Linked DNA regions of Homo sapiens: all the other regions are linked to region 5. The links are contacts of gene promoters, found by promoter capture Hi-C in blood cells and fetal thymus (Javierre and others, 2016). All regions are on one chromosome and are shown on one strand. Each heading gives the region's core, a stretch centred on a gene start or on the middle of the fragment in contact. The rest is flanking DNA. Distances are from core to core; before and after follow the strand shown.

Evidence for each region. The method cuts DNA at HindIII sites, captures the fragments that hold promoters and counts their contacts. A CHiCAGO score of 5 or more calls a contact.
Region 1: a contact is called between a fragment that was not itself captured here and the fragment with the promoter of LRRC40 in region 5, in 2 of 17 cell types (naive B cells and total B cells). The highest score is 7.7, in naive B cells.
Region 2: a contact is called between a fragment that was not itself captured here and the fragment with the promoter of LRRC40 in region 5, in 4 of 17 cell types (non-activated CD4 T cells, total B cells, naive CD8 T cells and 1 more). The highest score is 8.3, in non-activated CD4 T cells.
Region 3: a contact is called between a fragment that was not itself captured here and the fragment with the promoter of LRRC40 in region 5, in 1 of 17 cell types (total CD8 T cells). The highest score is 5.3, in total CD8 T cells.
Region 4: a fragment that was not itself captured here is called in contact with the fragment with the promoter of LRRC40 in region 5 in 2 of 17 cell types (monocytes and total CD8 T cells); the score reaches 5.7 in monocytes.
Region 6: the fragment with the promoter of LEPR here is called in contact with the fragment with the promoter of LRRC40 in region 5 in 1 of 17 cell types (total CD4 T cells); the score reaches 6.1 in total CD4 T cells.
Region 7: a fragment that was not itself captured here is called in contact with the fragment with the promoter of LRRC40 in region 5 in 1 of 17 cell types (non-activated CD4 T cells); the score reaches 5.2 in non-activated CD4 T cells.

What each region holds. Positions count from the first base shown.
Region 1 is chr1:66,931,113-66,933,812 of GRCh38, reverse strand. The region is part of intron 2 of MIER1 (MIER1 transcriptional regulator); the gene reads right to left. Among named protein-coding and RNA genes, the nearest start is that of MIER1, 7.5 kb to the right of the region's middle. The HindIII fragment of the contact is 2,514 bases long and covers 167-2,680 here.
Region 2 is chr1:74,737,676-74,740,375 of GRCh38, reverse strand. It overlaps TYW3 (tRNA-yW synthesizing protein 3 homolog), which reads right to left. Exons shown (of 6, transcript NM_138467.3): 3 at 1,588-1,686. Among named protein-coding and RNA genes, the nearest start is that of TYW3, 5.9 kb to the right of the region's middle. The HindIII fragment of the contact is 226 bases long and covers 1,304-1,529 here.
Region 3 is chr1:67,017,336-67,020,035 of GRCh38, reverse strand. The region is part of intron 10 of SLC35D1 (solute carrier family 35 member D1); the gene reads left to right. Among named protein-coding and RNA genes, the nearest start is that of SLC35D1, 35 kb to the left of the region's middle. The HindIII fragment of the contact is 152 bases long and covers 1,288-1,439 here.
Region 4 is chr1:66,952,711-66,955,410 of GRCh38, reverse strand. The region is part of intron 4 of MIER1 (MIER1 transcriptional regulator); the gene reads right to left. Among named protein-coding and RNA genes, the nearest start is that of MIER1, 29 kb to the right of the region's middle. The HindIII fragment of the contact is 2,127 bases long and covers 209-2,335 here.
Region 5 is chr1:70,204,172-70,206,871 of GRCh38, reverse strand. It overlaps LRRC40 (leucine rich repeat containing 40), which reads left to right and starts at 1,293. Exons shown (of 15, transcript NM_017768.5): 1 at 1,293-1,482. The coding sequence starts at 1,332. It also overlaps a transcript of SRSF11 not described here. RefSeq lists enhancers at 1,070-1,379, 1,640-1,699. The HindIII fragment of the contact is 8,465 bases long and covers 1-2,700 here.
Region 6 is chr1:65,419,229-65,421,928 of GRCh38, reverse strand. LEPR (leptin receptor) reads right to left here and starts at 1,261. Exons shown (of 20, transcript NM_002303.6): 1 at 1,189-1,261. It overlaps LEPROT (leptin receptor overlapping transcript), which reads right to left and starts at 1,261. Exons shown (of 4, transcript NM_017526.5): 1 at 1,189-1,261. The coding sequence starts at 1,204. RefSeq lists enhancers at 758-807, 881-1,414, 1,415-1,947 and silencers at 1,178-1,677, 1,698-1,767. The HindIII fragment of the contact is 9,332 bases long and covers 1-2,317 here.
Region 7 is chr1:74,192,757-74,195,456 of GRCh38, reverse strand. All of the region lies in intron 1 of LRRIQ3 (leucine rich repeats and IQ motif containing 3), which reads left to right. Among named protein-coding and RNA genes, the nearest start is that of LRRIQ3, 4.1 kb to the left of the region's middle. The HindIII fragment of the contact is 877 bases long and covers 904-1,780 here.

The DNA of each region.
Region 1 (2,700 bases), core at 174-2,673, 3.3 Mb after region 5:
CAAACCTTTCCCACCTATTAAAGTACCCTAACTCTTAACTGCCAATGAATTAAGATTTTTAGGACTCTCACGCACTGGTGATCTTGACTACTTTTAAAATCTTAATAGCTCTGAAGTATAAACATGAAAAAAAATTCATTATTAGTGTCGAGAATTATTTGAAGCTTAAATTCACTGCAGTGAAACACATTTTGCTTAGAGTAGAAATTAATGTTTTCATAAGTAACATTTAACATAATCCTTCGTTAAAAAAATCCAAATACACTCAAAAAATACTAAGCAAGGAGTCCATTTTAAAGAGAAATGGATAGGTGTGAAAGTGAATAAACAGATTATATACCCTCTTTGAAAGTACTAAAATACTTAAATAGAAAGAAGCAAATCCATTAATTTTCTCTTTATATCACAGAAATGTGGCCTAGGTGAAAAGACAGGTCTTGAATTGTCCATGGATTTTTTTCCTTGAGAAGAAAGTCCCTTACGTGTTTACAAACGCTAAAATACAAGACAAATTGTTCGTTCCCAAAGGTCCCTAGTACATTCCTTATAAAACCCAAAGGATTAACTATTTCTTCCTCTCATTTTTTCTCTCATTTTCCTCTTATTTTTGCAGTTAGTAAAACTGCAACTATCCTGTAATTTCCTTCAAGTGTGACTAGGAGAGCGTCCTTTTAGAAGGTTGGTAAATAATTTTAAGGGATAATAAGCAATGAGAAATATTGCCAAAAAGTATTAAGCAAGGGAGCATATGCTATTTATTCTAAGTACATTAAATACGGCTTTAATGTTATCACAACTGAAGAACCAATATATACTTCCTATTATGGACTAAGATAATCAGATCAAATATAAAAAATTAGTATATCCTATTCTCATCTAAAGCACTTTCTATTCAAGAATTAAATATTTTTCTGGAAAAACATGGTCAGGGTCATGCTCTTGTAGGAAGCATCAATTTTTTTTTTTAAAAGCCCAGAAGCATAATACCTACATTTTTCTCTGGAGACATACTTCTTCAATAACCTGTTTTCCCCCTCAGATTTAACAAATAGATATATACTGTTGCTTTGCACTTACTGTTACTTCACAAGCTATCCTTAAATCCTCAGATTTATTTGATCAAAAGCACAATAATTCAGCATCTGGATTATTTAATCACATGCTTTTATATTGGCTTCATAAAGAATGAATCTACTGAGAGCTCAAAGTAAAAGCCAACCAAGCATTTCTCCTTTGTCTAATTGTTTAAAACCACTGGTCTCAAAAATCGTCATAATTATTCAAGTATTGAGGCCAGGAAAACTATAAATCAATTGTACTTTTCACTTCTTCACCTGTCTTAGATTTTTTTGTAGGACACAGATCACGAAAGTTCCTCTAACTCTTCCCCAATTCACTATACATGAAACTATCTACAAGTAACTGAAGAATATAGAAGATAAATTGTTTAAAGATACCAGGTCATTAAATAAACACTAAAAACCAAATAAAAACAAAATTCCAGTTCTTTCCTTCTTGCAGTTGAACAATCCATGCGTTCCCACAAAACATTCCATTCTCCAACTGATAAAATATTTAAGAAAACTAAAACATACATTAGAAAATATTAGGAAATGATTAGTGAATCAAAATATTTTTTTCCTTTATCTTACAATAACGCAACCATCTTTAATTTTTAAAACAAAAAAGTTAACATAATTTCTTTTACATATTAGATTTTTTAGTTCCCTCGGCAATAAAATTTATTTTTTAAAAACACAGAAATTTTAAATTTAAGTTTTTTAACTTAAATTTCTCTGTATAAGCTATTTTCCTTCAGTAATATCTTGCCTTAGTATATGACTACACACCTCAAAGCTCAAACCATCCTGAGCAACACCATGAAAGAAGAAACCACATTACCTATGTAGCACATTGCTGCTTACCCGATATTCACTGAAAGGGGTCCACTGAAGACACTAACTGACAAAATGTATAAATCCAGCTACACACAACTCCTTAAACATGAAGGAAACAAACACTTAAGAATAAGAACCTCACCAGGACTAAAATCCAGGTACCGATTCTCAGTCTACTGGAACAAACGCAGTCACATTTTGGGGAAACAGAAAGTACTACGTTCTCCAATTCATGTGCCTGGAAATACAATTCTTTAACCACCAAGAGCAAAAGAAATGAAAATAAATCTAAGATCTAAATTTAGTTGTAAATTAGAGATATTGAATGTTTTAAAAAGAATACTCGCAGCAAACAGTCCTGTCTGCTACAGCAAAATCTCACCCTCCTTCCTAAATCTGTTTTGGGGTGCCTGTGAAACCATGAAAATGGCAATTCAAACAAGAGAAATGCCTTATCAATCAAAATTTACAGTGGCTTATTTCAAAGGAGTCATAAAAAAAATCCAAATACATCATCTCGAACTCTCAGGAATAAAGAATACTGAAATTCTTCCACGGGTAAGGAAAAACGGAAACAAAACAAATCCCACAAAACTTCAGATATTTTAAACATTTTTTAAACTTCCAGTTATTTAAAGTTCCAGTAGCGTATACTTAGTTCCGATTAATAAATCAACAGCAGTTGTATGCCCGCCAACTGCGGCCCAAATATGTAAAATCAAAAAAAGGGGCTTTAGGAACTTGTTTACTATAAAACGAGCAAAAAGAAACAAGAAAAAGCTTCTCCAATGAAAGAAAAATT
Region 2 (2,700 bases), core at 167-2,666, 4.5 Mb before region 5:
TCTGCATTACCATTATGAGCTGTTAACACTCACTGTGGAAGTCTGCGGCTTCATTTCTGAAATCAGCAAGACCACGAACCCACTGGGAGGAACAAACAACTCTGGACATGCCACCTTTAAGAGCTGTAACACTCACTGCGAAGGTCTGCAGCTTCACTCCTGAAGTCAGCAAGACCACGAACCCACTGGAAGGAAGAAACTCCGGACACATCTGAACATCTGAAGGAACAAACTCCGGACATACCATCTTTAAGAACTGTCACACTCACTGCGAGGGTCCACGGCTTCATTCTTGAAGTCAGCGAGACCAATAACCCACTGGAAGGAACCAATTCTGGACACACTTCAACTTCAGCACACCCCATCTGGATAAAGGCGACTACCATACAGCTAGGGGCTCCAGCCAGACCTAAGTAGTTATCCTTGATTCCTCTTTCTCCTCCTCCCTCTGGCTGTCCTTCCCCAGACAACCTTACAATTCTGTTGATTCAAATGCTGAAATACATATTGAATCTATTCCTTTCTCACCTGCTTTGGTGCTATCACCTTACACCAACCTATCACCACAAACTACTCCTAACTCGTATCTTTTCACTTACTGCACTCCTTTCTCTATGCTGAAGCAGAACTGAGTTTTTCAGAACAAAAACCTAGAAAGCCACTCTTTGCTTAAAACTGTCCCTTCAATAACTTTTCCCTGAACTCAGAAAGAAATTCAAACTCTTTAATCTGGTCTACAAAGCCTTAAATGACCTGGCCCCAGCCTCCTTCTGGCACCTTCTTTCCACTCTCTAGACCCACTGAAACTTTGTATATACTTTTCCATCTTCATGGAATGTTCATTTCCCAGCTACATGCCTAGCTCTTTCTGTTCCTTTAAGTCTTAGCTTAAAGAAAGCTTTTCAGAGAAGCCTATCTTCAAGTGAGCTGCTTTTTGCACTGTTCTCTATTACCAGGTTGTTTTTTCCTTCGGTAGAACATTTTGCAACTTGCAGTTTGTTTTTTGTTTTTTTGCCAGTTCACTTGTTTGTTTTTGCTGTCTCCTAACTTTGGAAGAGGAACCAAGACAGTCTTTAATCTTGTTCATCACTGTGCCCCTAGTACTTGACACACTGAGACTCAATACATTATTGTTGCTTAAAATGCAATTCAGTTTTATATATAAATATATAAAAGGTATAAAAAGGAGAATCAAGACTAAACAGATGTTTACCTCATGCATGCTCATTTAAATGGGAAAAATGAAATATTCTTTAAAACTCTTAATTTTACATGTAGTTCCACAGTATTTTTTCTTAAAGCTTGGCAAACAAAAACAAACTATAGAATGCTGAAGTAAAATTTATAAATAAAAACGTTAAGAAAGAAAACAGGAAGCATAACCTGGGACTTATATTTTCCTAGCAATGATTAGCTACTCTTTTTTTCTAATATTAAAAATTAATAGATTGAGCAGACCAATAAATAATATATACATAACTAGTTGAATAAGGTAATATCTCATTGATATTTATAGCAGGTTAAAAGCTTAAAATTACATCTACCCACATATCTATAAATTCAAGTACAATTACAACAAAATTTTACCAGAATCTGTGCATCCTGCAATTGTCGACACTGCACATGAAGAACAAATGGTTCAAATTTCAAAGTGGCATCACCATTTGCTTTCTTCAGAGCTACAATCTAAATAAATGAACAGTGGTATCAGATGCAAGTATATGGCCTGTCCTTTGGCGACCCTTTACCCCATACATAACTTCAATTTCTCTTAGAAATTTTCAGAATCACTCAGCATATTTTTTCTGCAGTAACTTTTCCCTCTGCTTTCTTGGTCCTTTTTCACCAAAAATTTATTTGCTTATTTTCTTAAAATTTCTAGTTCTCCCGTAAATCTTCTATACCATTCTTTCCACCTATTAGTGTGCTTTGAAGAAGTAAACTACTACTTTATTTAATTCCATAACGGATTTTTCATTAGGAAATGTAGTATACAAAAACTGTATTAGGATTGTTTAAATTTTTTGTTAGATTGAGATAGAGACAAATGTAATGTGAGAGAAGGGTCCAAACAAAGCCTAACTGCCACCCATGTTCCCAAGAAGCATCCTGTACCAAGCACCAGTGCTTACCAGCAGCACTAGTAAGCTCACAAATAGCAGTGCATGCAAAGAGCTCAGAGCACAGCCAGTGAGTTCCTGTTCCCTCTGTAACAGGCACAGTTGTTGTAACAATTGCAACTTGCAGTTTTTTTGTTTGTTTTTTTTTCCCTGTTCACTTGTTTGTTTTTGCTATCTCCTAACTTTGGGAGAGGAACCTTGGAACTGCTCAGCTACATGAGAACCAATGGCCCCTGAGCACGTTCCTAGCTTTCTGTATTTCAGACCCTATGGGGCAGTGTTCAGGGTCTGGGAGCTACTGCAGCACAAAGTGGGGTACATGCCATCACTCTGCCCTGATCAGCTGTGGAACCAATCTGCTAGCCATGGGGACTGACACATTGCAAAGGGCTAGATCTTGTGTAGTCTCTTCCCTCCTGCTATAAGCAAATGTTACAACACTTGAGCCTAGTATGCGTGTTTTTTGTTAGTGACCTTGAGTCAGGTACTAGTCTCTTCCCTAGGTAGCACTTGCCTGCCTTTTAACCTTGGCTGCACCCATGTTACAGTGTATCCTGCGGCGTAGTCTGACCACCTAGTG
Region 3 (2,700 bases), core at 114-2,613, 3.2 Mb after region 5:
CTGTGTTCTCTGCCTCACTGAGGTCTGGCTGTTTTGTAGGGAAAGTATGCTGGCCAGAAGCTAATTGGGGGGGTTTTCCTATGCCTGAGCCAAACCTTAAATGGCTCACTTTTGAAAGCTGTGTCTGACATTTCCAATGATCTCATTTCCTCCTGATCCATTTTATTTGAGGCAGACTAATTTGTCTTCAGCCAGGAGAGCCAAGTTGACTTGAATATTGAGCTAAAGTTGGTGGCTTGAAGCCTGAGGCCTCTTTCATCTGACTTTGTGATTCTAGTGCTTTATGATTCAAGAGGCCACAGCTTGTCTGAATTCCAAATGAATTAGCCAAGTGGGCCTGCTTCCTTAAAAAGGCAAAACCCAGAGAGGTAGGTCCTTAACGTTTGGGGAAAAGAGGGCCATTACCCTTGTGACTTCCTTTCTGATGCCCCATTACTCAGTAGTGAGGGAAGAGATTTCAGAGGTCAAGTTTTTACTGCTCTGCTGTTTATCTTTGTAGTCTCAATAGAGTGGTGCCCACCTGATCTCAGTTTAGAGACTAGATTGGGTTAAAATCCAGAAAGTCTGTGGTTTCAAATCATGAAATTGAACTGTTTGCTGTGAATAGAATTCCAAATTAAGCTGTAACAGGTCAATTTGTGTGAATTCCTTTAGAAAGCTAGAGACAATCTATATGCCAGGGATTGGGCTGGCTGAGACAGTTTTAGGCCCCTCCCCCAAATTAGCTCTAGGTATGTTTTGGTTTTGTAAAGTGAATGCCTCAAGGGCAAAGTGGATGGCTTTCGTCTTCAGCATAAGAGTAGCGAGAATGTGAGAAATAGGCCATGTTTTTAGTTAAGGAGACGGATGATGCCGGAAAGCCTATGTTTAATTTTAATAAGTAAACCTATTTGCCTGGGATTTCTTAGTGTACTTTATCATTATCAACATGGGATACAAATAAAGTCATTCTTGCTTATATAAGGTTTATACTTTCCTTTTGATATATGTTTCTCCTCACAGTAGTCCAAGAACTCCATGGATTTACTCATTCCAGGGTGATTAATTTTACTTACAAACTCCACAGGGAGGCAAAAACTGAATTGTCTGATTAGTTCACTACTGTTCTTGCTTCATACTGGTGCAGGGTATCACTGTTGAAGGATGGCTTGCACATGCAGACAGATGGGAATCTGCTGATACCCTTGCAGGGTCGAAGTCTCACAGGATACAGTGCAGCTTCTGTCATTAGCATCCCAGTTATAACCCATTTAGCTCAGCCATTCCTCCTACAAGAGGCTTTAAGCTTCCTTCTGTGCTTGAGAATCCCCTGCAAATCCTTCGGTCAGCATTCCTTTTTCTCTTCAGCATGGTGGGAAAATCACTTAGGATAACTCATTGAAAGTAGAAATTCCAAGGCCTACCCAGATAGACTCAGTCAGAATCTCTAGAGTAAAGCTTAGAAATGTTTATGTTTAACAGGGTTTCCAGGCAATTGTCGGGTATACTAAAGTTTGAGAATTGCAGTCTTAGTTTTGAGCTATCATGACTCTTCTGTGCTTCTTGATAATTTCTTTTTTGAAGACGTTGGTGTCTTTTCTTGATAGCCAGCCTTGCTTAGGATACCCTAATATATACCTACAGGTTTTCCAACTTCTGATTTTGAGCAGCATGGGTTGGATTCTCTGTCACCTTCATTTCTGAAGTTCCTTGGGCAACTTACATAAATTAATCCACCTCCCTGGATCCCTGTATTCAAATGACGTCCTGTTATACACTTTCCTAAGTTGCCTGCTAGCCTTGTTGTTACATGATACTTAATTTTATTTTTTCCCTTCAAATAATAGGAAAATCCTTTCTAAGGCAACCTCCTGTCTTCATCCTTAGGCCTAGAAGAGGCTGACATAATTTTGAAGGTTCTCTCAAAGGGCGTTTTATTAGAAAAATAATTTTGAAGTTTCTTTTTGGCCTTTTTCAATGTATCAATTTACTTTGTGTCTCATAGGCCTAATCTAGAGGCCTGTGAGAAATAAGTCAGATAAATATATTTTGGGGTAAAATATTTTAATTTCCTTCAGTCCTCACTTTAAAACTTCATAAAGTTTTATATATTAAAAGCCATTTGGGCCAGAGGTCATCAGAGATAGACAAAGAAGTGAAAAAACAAATCTAGATAAGCAGAAAAGAGTAAATTTAAATGTATTGCCCCATATCTTTTTTAGTCATAGTCCTAAGAATGGATTAAACATTTGTGTCCCATTTTAGAAGGTGGCATTGTAGGTACACTAGGCCTCTGTGTATGATGAAGGGAAACAGATCTTTAATAAGAGATGTTTTTGTGGAAACAGAAGAAAAAACCAAGGTTAATGTCTGGAGTAGTGTATAGAGTTTTTTAGAGTCCTTGAGGTATCTTCAGATTGCAGTGGCAATCTGACAGATTTTACTGGATTATAGTTCAAATCAGCATTGAAGTGAACTTTCTGAGTATTCTATACATCAGTAGGCATGAAGGCTGTTTGTATTTAACTTCTGATTTTTCCTGAAGTTTACGTTGTCTAGTTTCAGTTTGTAGGGCTTTAAGAAAAGCACAGTTTCAACTTTCAGTGGCTTAAAGTCAAAAATGGAAGAAAAATTTGAAAATGTTAGTTTGGAAACTTGTAGCCAGGAAAGAATTCAGGTTTTAGTCTAAATATTAGAGAAGTAATAACAACAATAACAATT
Region 4 (2,700 bases), core at 23-2,522, 3.3 Mb after region 5:
CTTTCTGACCTAGTAAGTCTCCAGTGAGGCCCGAGTACCTGCAATTAAAAAAAAAAAAAAAAAAAAAAAAAAAACTCAGGTGATGCTAATGCTGCTGGTATGAGACTACCTTGAAAACCACTGATCTCACAGGTCTGGGATAAGATACCTGCAAATCACCCTTTCCAATGGGAGGTAATAAAGCTTGAACATTAACTTTAATAAAGCTTATCGTATGACATATGATATCCAGCTCAAATATTTGTCAAAAGGATAGGTGACATACTAACTACATGGAAAAAGAATTTTTCTTTTTTAACCATTATCAAGAATGTAGAATGTCTGACAATCATAGATTAAGGTTTTTCCCTCCTGGATATACAGATAAGAAGTGTGACTCACTTTGTAAAAATTCATTTCTCAGGCCAAGCGCAGTGGCTCACGCCTGTAATCCCAGCACTTTGGGAGGCTGAGGCTGGCAGAACACTTGAGGTCAGGAGTTCGAGACCAGCCTGGCCAACAAGGCAAAACCCCATCTCCACTAAAATTACAAAACAATTAGCCAGGCATGGTGGTGCACACCTGTAGTCCCAGCTACTGAGGAGGCTGAGGCAGGAGAATTGCTTGAACGCAGGAAGCAGAGGTTGCAGTGAGCTGAGATCATGCCACTGCACTCCAGCCTGGGTGACAGAGTTGAGACTCTGTCTCAAGAAAAAAAAAAAAGGAAAAAGAAAAAAATTCATTTCTCAAAGAAAAATTCTCCAACACCTCCAATATTGACTAAGCAGAGAACAGAGAGAGTCAAAAGTAGCCTGATCACAGTGCATTTAGAGGGGAAATGCTTGAATTACAATCGTAATAGAACTGGCACAGATGGAGAAAAGTCATTCAAGTCAGAGCAAATGACAAATGTATGGTACAGAAACAAAAATGAATAAGCCAGTCACCCTGATTAGAGCAGACATACCATTTACAGTAACTAAAAACAAAGTATCATTTCAGAAGGCCATACATTACTGAAAGATCAGTTATAGATTAATGAAAGTCAGGATTACTATTTTTACCTACTTTCTCTAGTTTTACGTAATTTTTAAAGGCTTCTGTTATACTCCTGACTCAATTTGAGCGTACTGAATAGTTACTGACACTCTGGAAGTATTTAGGGGAAATTACACACACAACAAAACACTCAACGTGAACTTAGGCAGGGGAAGATTTAGTTTGCTTGCCATGTGGGAATCCACTGCTATCATTCACTACACATTCACCTGTATTATGATCAGAACCTAAATTAAATTAGTGGTTGTGGAAAAGAAAAAATTGAAGAGATGCAACAGGATTCAACCAGGGATTAGGAGAGATGGAGGTCCTGGTGATGCTGAATCCCTGGTTCCATATATTCCTTGTACCCAACTACACTTTCATATACCTTCTAATAGTTTATTTTTACACAACGTTATTTTTAGATGGGCTTTATCACATGGAAAAAAAATACCCTTACTTATTCAATCAAGAAAATGCTTACTTATGCTGGGTGCAGTGGCTCACACCTGTAATCCCAGTACTTTGGGAGACTGAGGGGGACAGATCACTTGAGATCAGGAGTTCAAGACCGGCCTGGCCAACATGGTGGAACCCCAACTCTACTAAAAATACAAAAGTTAGCCAGGCATGGTGGTGTGGGCATGTAATCCCAGCTACTCAGGAGGCTGAGGCAGGAGAACTGCTTGAACCCAGGAGGCAGGGGCTGCAGTGAGCTGAGATTGTGTCACTGCACTCCAGCCTGGGCAACAGAGTGAGACCCTGTCTCAAGAATATTAAAAAAAAAAAAAAAAGGAAAAGAAAATGCTTACTTACTAGTATTAAACTTGTAACTCAAGCTGTCACCCAATATCAAGTGAGTAATATCAGCTTAGTAAGCAACAAAGAAAAAATCATCACCACCAAAAATACAAGTTGAAGCACGACAGTATAAAAAGTCTCTTATTTAATCTAAGGTAAAAGTGAAAATCTTGCAGCAAACTCCGGGCTACAACTATAATAAAAATCAGAATCAATTTTGCTGAGGAATCCTGTTTCAAATTGCAATAGCATGTATTTGTGTTCCTGCTTTGTGCTAACTGAAGTAAAGATTTAGCAAGCATAAACAAGCATCATGTAAGGATTATTTATTATTTCCCCTCCAAGCCTCTCCTACTCTCTACTTCTGTACTTGTCTTCTCACATGAAATGTTCTTTCTTCCATTCCAAGCACTTATTTTTCTTGAAAGTTCACCTCCTTGACCATAGTAGCTGACATAATTGGAATAACTGTATTCCCTGGCCGTAGATTTGGAGTGGACACATGACCCAAGCTTGTCCATACTTTGTTTCTGGAGTTTTATCAACAGCAACTTAAGAAAGAAGCATAGACTATCTCAAGTAGTAAATGTGGGAGACCTACAAACTGACAGCATAATATGAAGAAAGTTGGTCTGAAAAGACAAGTCAGGTGGGACACGGCTCACGCCTGTAATCTTAGCACTTTGGGAGGCCAAGGTAGGCAGATCACTTGAGCTCAGGAGTTCGAGACCAGCCTGGGCAACATGGCGAAACACCGTCCATGTAAAAAATACAAAAAGAATTAGCTGGGTGTGGCAGCGCATGCCCGTAGTCCCAGCTACTAGGGGGGCTGAGGCAGGAGGATGGCTTCATCCAGGGAGGCTGAGGCTGCAGTGAGCC
Region 5 (2,700 bases), core at 44-2,543:
GCTTTTTTAGTAGGGTAACAACTATTGGTAACTTTCTCTTGTTCGATATTAGTGTAAAGGACTCCACAGAAATAAGAACAAAAAGGGTAGAGTTAAAAACCGAATTTTACAGGTAGCAATAACCTGGACTCAGGTAAAAGTGCGTGATGAAGAATTGATCAAAGGGCCTTCATCCTAGCTTTCAACTATTCTACCAATCCTCAGTAGACTTGATGGGGGTTAGAATGGTATTCCCTGGCATATGCTTTTAAAACAAAATCATTTCAGGCAAAAGAAAAGTCTAGCACCCAGGATAGTACACATACTAGGCAGGATTAATCTTAATAATTACTTGTTGAATCAAGAAGTTGTACATTTCAGATGAAAATTTTAATTTCCTAGGAAACACCGACTTACATTGAACAAAATTTTCATTTGCTATTATTCTGGACTCACCGAGAGCTCAAGATTCTAGTTTTTATCTTCACTTATTTCAAAAACCTTATGCGGTAGGAATTATCCCCAAAGTAATGAAAAAAAGGAATGAGCTTTAAAAGCGGTTGAGTAAACTGCCTAAAGTTAACAGTTTCTAAAGTAAAGAAGCAGCTGAGATTTGAACTTGCTTTTTAGGGCTCAAAAATCCAAGCTGTCTGAGCTTCACTAAAGCATGTACCACTACTTGTCTCCCTAAACTGTCTGATACACAGAACATTTATTAAATTTTAAGGATTTTTGTTTTTGTCTTCTATGTTGCCAGTCCTTCCATTTCACATTACCTCCTTTGCTGGGTAAGCTATATACCCTCAATACAACGAGAATGGTGTCAGAGTACAAGCCTTAAGAACAGAAAATTTCTTTTACTCCGTACGCCAGAGGTCTGGCGCCACCACCACAAGCGACAAACACAGGCTGGGGTCCAGAAACGCTGCCGACCGCGCCCAGATCTCAAGTTTTAGTCAAGGCCCACGTTCAGACTAGGAGAGGGGAGAAGAGAGGGTTCTCTTTCCCCACACCCTCGCCACGGTGGAAGCACAGAGGAGAAGGTTGGAGTCGCAGTAACAGTGCAAACAATAAACCCGAAAGCCCCTCTTAAGCCCGTTAAACGCACTTACTTGATTGAAGTAATTCCAGGACGCTAGGCCGGCACCGGCAACGGAAAAGGCTTCTCTGTCCTCCAGCCCAGGCGCTGGTGCTGACGACATCTGGACTGCGCCGCAGAGAGTGAAGGCCCAGCGCGAGGCCGCGAGCCCAGCGCCCAGAGCGCGCGCTCACGAAAGGAGCGGGGCATCCCAACGGCGCCACCTTTAAGCGTCACGGGTGGGGCTGCAGCTTCTGGACCTAGGACTTTGAACATGTCGCGCCTGAAGCGGATAGCGGGGCAGGATCTCCGCGCTGGTTTCAAAGCAGGTGGAAGAGACTGCGGTACCTCGGTACCCCAAGGGCTGTTGAAGGCAGCGAGGAAGAGCGGCCAGTTAAACCTGTCGGGTAGAAACCTCAGTGAAGGTAAGACCCAGAGGTACGACCCTATTGTGTCTCCTGTCAGAAAGCCTTTGGCCCAGGCAACCTCCCTTTTCTCTGGGCTGGCTTTGGCCCCCTTTCTCAGACTGCTAGCCAGAATTTCTGTGCTCTAATCTAATCCCTGTGCTCATTTCGACCGGTTTGGTTAGCCCAGTTCAGTTCCTTCCCAGGTTCCCGCAATCTCTGTTAAAGGGACCCTGCTAAAAATACGGTCTAAATTTAAACGGGGCGCTTTCTGGGATTCCCACATTCTGTGGGATAAGCAACATAATATGTGACGAAACCAGCTATCAAATCACGGGCAAATCTTTTGTTTCTTTGGCCCTTATTTTCCTCCTCTTATTGTAATCTTCAAGGGCAATTACCAAAGCTAAAATTATATGTTTTATCGGCCCCTTTGTGAACCTGCACTGTTCCCTGCCGAGACGCTCTTCTGTATGCAGCTGTGCAGAGTTCTACTTACAAGGAATAATGAGTATATTTTCTAAGTTGAAGATCAGGATAGATGCCACACAGAGTGTTTGAATGTGGGGACATCCTGAGAAACCTGTTAAAGACCAAGAAGCACAAATCTGGGTACCATGAATGAATGGCCAGATGCTCTTCTGATTGTCGTGTGTGTGTGTGTGTGTGTGTGTGTGTAAGAGAGAGAGGGAGGGGAATGGAGAGATGGAGAAATAGAGCATTTTTCCTGTAATGTTTTTCTTCATTTATATTTAGGTTTTAAGACTGATTAAAACCTTCCATTTTCCTTCTAATGATTGCTTTCTTATTGTGACATGTATAAAGTAGATTAGGCAAGCAAATGCTTCTGAATGAATGAAAAGACACAGAATCCTTACTCCACCTAAAAGAGTTTTTGATCAATGGGAACATACTCATTTTCAAACTACAGTTGTGCATATATATATATCTACTTGGTTTCCCCAAAACCTGAAACATTTTTCTCTAAACTTGCATACCTATCATGCTAACATTCTGTTCTCTTACCTGTTTAATTTTTTAACAGCATTTATCACTATCAGAATTTATATCATTTATGTTTTTTGTTTTCTCTGCCCTCCAACCAAAAGGTTAATATCATGAAGTCAGTGAGCTTTGTTTTGTGCTTTGTTGTATTTCTATCACTGAAAATAGTGCTTGGTACATAGTAGAGTCTTATTAAATTTTGCGGAAGCAATAAGTAAGTGAATGAGTATTCTC
Region 6 (2,700 bases), core at 12-2,511, 4.8 Mb after region 5:
TTGAACAATCTGTAAAATGCTTCCTTCCCTTAGTCCGTTTCCATTTCAGACTTCCTTTTTTTTCACTACATCACAATTTTCTAACACATTCACACATAAACGTGATCATGATTTGGTAGTTTCTGATCATGTGTAGTACTGAGACACTACTTTTCATCTGTTTTCGGCATTGGCTTCAAATGGATATATAACACAGTCGACACTCTCCAAGTAAACCATGTTTACTAAACTGATATTAAGTATAAAAGTCAGCCAGAAATAACGATAAAATGTCTGCTGCTAACAGCTCACATACTCGGATAAATTCATAGTGAACAGAGGCGTACTCGTATATATACTATCTACATGTTTATAGCAGATGTTAACTGGGGATATCTTTGGGTGCAAATTTCAAGGATGATATAAAAGCCAATATAAAAACAAGTCATGCTACTCTATTCGACAGATTAGAAATGGAATGTTTTCCTACCAAAATACAGGAAGCCTTGCAAAAAACCTTTTCCGTCTCGCATTGCTCTGAAGCCATACAGATAAGGGACGCGGTGTTTTTACCAACTGCCCCATGCAAAAAACACATACTACACACACACTGGTTTCTTCTCTGTCCATAAACAGAGAAAACACCGAAGAAAGCAGTATTAAAATTACACGTAATCTACTCTCCACGACTGCGAGAAACACCGTCTTTCTGGGTGCTTTCCATTGACACCCGCCCGCGGTCAACTCTGCCCAGTTGGAAAAATCATTAGGAAAAAGAGGATTAAGTTTCCCAATGCTAAGAACGCTGGAGACAAAGGGTCCTTTGTGGCAAATAGGAAACTGCGGAGGGGCAGAAAACCAGAAGAAAGGCGTTAGGGTGGCGTCAAGAAGTGGAAACCTTGTTTAAAAACTCAGGAGAGGTGGAGGGCGCCGCTCTCGCCGAGGGCTCAGGCTGGGGAGGGGTCTGGTGCCGCCACTGGAGAGCAGGAAGGCCAGCGGCCTTGCAAAAAGGGCCAAGGCTCCCCCGAAACGCCGCTCCACCCACACCCCAAGGGACGAAGGGAGCGGTCGATCGCCTCCCGAACCGGAGAGGCGGGAAGGGTGGTGAGGCCGTTCCCCAACGGCGCGCGGAAGGCGCAGCCCCAGGCTTGACCGGAACGGAGGTGGCAACCCCACCACACGACAAGCGAGCCGGGGACCGCGATGTACCTTTAACGCCCGCCATGTCTCCCGAACTGGGGCCGCGGCTGCTTCCGGCTTCCTGCCACGGCCCGGGCAGCCTGCCCAAGCCAGACCGGGAGTCGCCCCGCGGATCCCGAGCCCGCCCCGGCCACGCAGAGCCCCGCCCCCGCCGGTGCAGAACTCCGACCTTAGCTCGCAAACGCGGCGCCTGCTGCTCCAGACCCCGCCCCCACCACTCACAACCCCGCCCCCGCCGGTGCAGAACCCCGCCCCCAGCTCGCAGAGGCCGCGCCTGATAGTTCAGACCCGGCCTCGCTACTCAGAGCCCCGCCCCTGACAGTACAGAGCTCCTCCCCTACCTCGCGGAGGCAGCGCCTGCGGCTCCAGACCTCGCTACCGCTACTCGAAGCCCCGCCCCAGACAATGCAGAGCTCCTCCCCTAGCTCGCGGAGGCCTCCCCTGCTGGTCCCGCCCCAGCCCTCACCGGCCCAGAATTCCGCCCCCAACTCTCAGAGGCCGTCCCTGCTGGTCCCGACCCCGCCCCCGCCACCCAGAACTCCGCTCCTGCCAGTCTAGAACTCCGCCCCCAGCTCGCAGAGTCCATCTCCAGCCCTAAGGTCCCACCTGGTCCCACAGAGCTTTCCCAGAGTAACCCCAACCCAGTGCCCTGGGCCCTCCTCCTAGATCCTGAGCCCTCCAAGTAATCCTCAAGCCCGTTCAATGTGGGTTGGGACCTTGGCTCCGCCCCGACCGCGGGCCCAGAGTCTCTCCCCGGCCTCTCAGAACGCAGTGCACGCAGCGGGGGATCCTCCCTGAGCCTTCCTGAGAACGGAGATGTAGAAAGTGGGGAGAGGCAGGAGAGGGAAGGAGGGGAAAAGTTGCAATCGATGGGAGAGGGACACCGACTCACTAACCAGTGTTATGTTCCCTGAGCTCCCAAGTGCGTGCTAGTGTGCGAGTGTGTGCCTGTCTGCCTTCACATGACTGTGGCAGAGGAGAGGCGGGGTACCAGAGGACAGGCCCCTTAGGAAACACTCCTCATTAAGAACTTGATATTTGCATAGGTTTGCTTTGCTTAATAGCAACGCTTTACTGAAACTAGCGGGGTTTTTCTTTACTCCCTGGTTTATTTATAGAGACGAAGACCATATAAGCTTTTGTGTCCGAAGCTTTCATGAACCTTAAAAAAAAAAATAAAAAAAAAAAGCTATTATTTTTGTGCCTTGGGGCCTCAAAGTTTGCAGGTAACCAAGGCCAGTTTTTAGATCTCTGAGAGCCATTGTGTACTTATCTTACAGGAATGGAGAGTTCTGTTTTGGCAAAAGCAATCTAGAAGATCATTGAAACAGTCTGGTCCAAATGCTTCAACTTACATTTAAGGAAAGAGGTGCAGAAAGGATAGGACTTGCCTGTCACACAGCTCTTTGGAGGAGGTTGGATTCTGGGCCACTTCCCCTCATTCTAGCTGAGATCCACTCTACCTGATGGTGCCGTCCCTCTTCTCTTGCTTTTTCTCCGTTTTCAAAAGGACTGAAAGAC
Region 7 (2,700 bases), core at 93-2,592, 4.0 Mb before region 5:
ATTACTACAGGCATATAACTATGACTGTTGTGTGGAAATTATAGAGAAGAATGTTTTAATTTTCCCCCCTTCTTTATATGAGGAAGTTGAAGCCAAATGAATAGGGTCCTGGATTATATACTGTGGAGCTCGTAGTGCATGCTGTGGTCAGGCCAAGCTAGGGCTGTACTTGTTTCCAGTCCTTGTGCTTCATGGCTCTGTTTAACCACTGTTTCCTCCTGTTACCCTTCCTGACATGCAACGAAAGCAAAAATTGTCTTTTTGCAGTTTGTTTTATTTCGATTTATTTACTCAGCTAGCCTGTTCTCAATTTATTTCTTAAATATTTTTTTTCTCACTATGCCCTGTTGGAGGAACCCTCACACCCCTCAACTTTCTGTAGTGCAGAGAAACATTCTCCCACCCCTGAACTTTTATTATACTTCCTCCCTTAGTATTTTTGTAGATTTTTTTTCCAAATGGAGTTCCCCAGTAGTGTAATCATAATCTACTTTGTCCAAATACCAGGATGAGGTTTCGGGGAGGGGAAAGGGATAGGGAGAGGGCAAGTGGTTGAAGAATATAAATTAGTAGAGTCAAGAATTAAATTTTAATTAATGTAATACAATATTTATGACACTTAAGAAAAAGGTATTAATGGCTTAATTTTAGGAGATCCAAAATCTGTTCTATGAAAGCTAACCAAGGAATGTTTTGGGCTAGAAGAAATATTTGTCGTGCTAATTTCTTTATTAAGAGGTTGTGATTTCTGTGCAGATTATTTTCTGTGAATGTTTTTATTAATTTTGGCTGTTTAATATCCATCTTCTGGCTCACCACCTTTTAGTTTTTTCAGGCTTATGCTTTTGCAGTCTCCAAGTTGGAATAAAAATAAAAATTGAAAAATGAGGTCTCACAAAAGCTTTTTTTCTGAACAGAAGTATATAACCTTCTAAAATTCAAAAAGCCAATATATTTAAAGAAAAAAAGTTATAATTACAAATGAATTCTGATTCCTTGTTCTGAATGACTTTTCATGTCATTTGAAAACATATAGAATATGCCATGAAAATATAATGTTTTGTGCTACCAAGGTTATTTATATTAAGTTATAAATGCACTATATTCTGTGTTCATTTTCCAGGACACATGTACTAGTCTGACTGTTCTACTAGACTCTCCCCTTCTTAACTTTTAAAATATATTTTTTCTGTGATATAAAATTATGGCAATTCTTTTATATTTTTAGAGACAGGATTTTTATTTTTAGAGACAACCTTTCACCCATGCTGGAGTGCAATGGCAGATCATAGCTCACTCCTGGACTCAAGCATTCTCTTGCCTTGGCCTCTCAAAGTTCTGGGATTATGCAGGCATGAGTCACTGCACCGGCCCATGGCAATTCTTTATTAAAACAGTCGTTACTTAACAAATCTGTTATCCAAATAAAAAGTATTTAAAAAATATAATTTCTTTATTTTGTTAATAGAGATGCACTTAATATGTTGCAGACATTCTAAACTAAAAATAGTTTGTAATCACAATATGTATAAAATGTTACTGATTAGAATCCTTACAATTAGATTTTCTAAAAACTAAGACTTTTTATTCTTTTTTTATGATTTGATTTTATATGCAGATAACAGCTGTTGTGATAATTCTGGAGTCTAGTATTCAGATTTCCATCTAATATTATAGTTCATGCTTATAAAATAAATTACTTTCATGTAGACCATCAAATCTAATATTTTAATATATTACTTAAAATAATGATGATCTGTCTTCCAAGTATCTGAAAGCTTCAGTGAATAAGTGTTAAGTCTAAAGGTAATTAGTACACTCAGCAAAGACTTTCTTTGAAAACTTTTTTCCCAATATTTATTATGTATCACATTTGGAAAAGAAATAAATATACAAAATAAATAGTTTTTACTTCTTAATATTTAATTTAAATATTCATGAGTTATAACCTTGTATAGTTACACTTAATGTGTTTGCCATCAAAGTTGGGTGTGAAGATGAGATATAACTGATGTGCATTTTATTTTATAGACATGGTTTATATAGTGCAATTAAAATGTAGGATAATTTTTAAATTGGTACTTTAGTTGATACAAACTAAGGAAAGGTTTGCTGATAATGGTACTGATTTATTTTTAACTGCAGAATTTCTTTGAAACTGTGGTTGGAGACTTGATACGTTCTGTAACGTGTTGCTATACTTAATTTGCCTTTGAACATTATATTATTATTTGAACTTGATAATTTACAAATGTGTATATACATTTCACAAAATAGTTATAAAATTATCAAAGTCTAAAATGAATGAAAGTGACTAGATTCCTCCTCTATGTGCATATTTTAAATTTGCAACAAGTGGTAAAGGGCTTCCAACTTGGTAGAGGAGGATATATCAATTGTAGTGGTTTTTAGCTTCCCTTGGTAGGCAGTAGAATCATATGGGCCCATAGCTGCAATGATATGATTCAGGGGACATGCTCTGGGGCCTGGTCATTTGAGTTATTCCAGTTTTCAGATGTACAACATAAATAAATAATGAGAAACAAAATTGAAATGCTGCATGTGGTAGTTAAAACAAAATATGAAAAATCCCCACTTTTCCATAATGATTGGAAAGTTCGACAGAATATGTAGCTGAATAATATAAATAACTGACACATACGTTATATTCTGAATATAGAATACTAGTTTTTTCTGTAA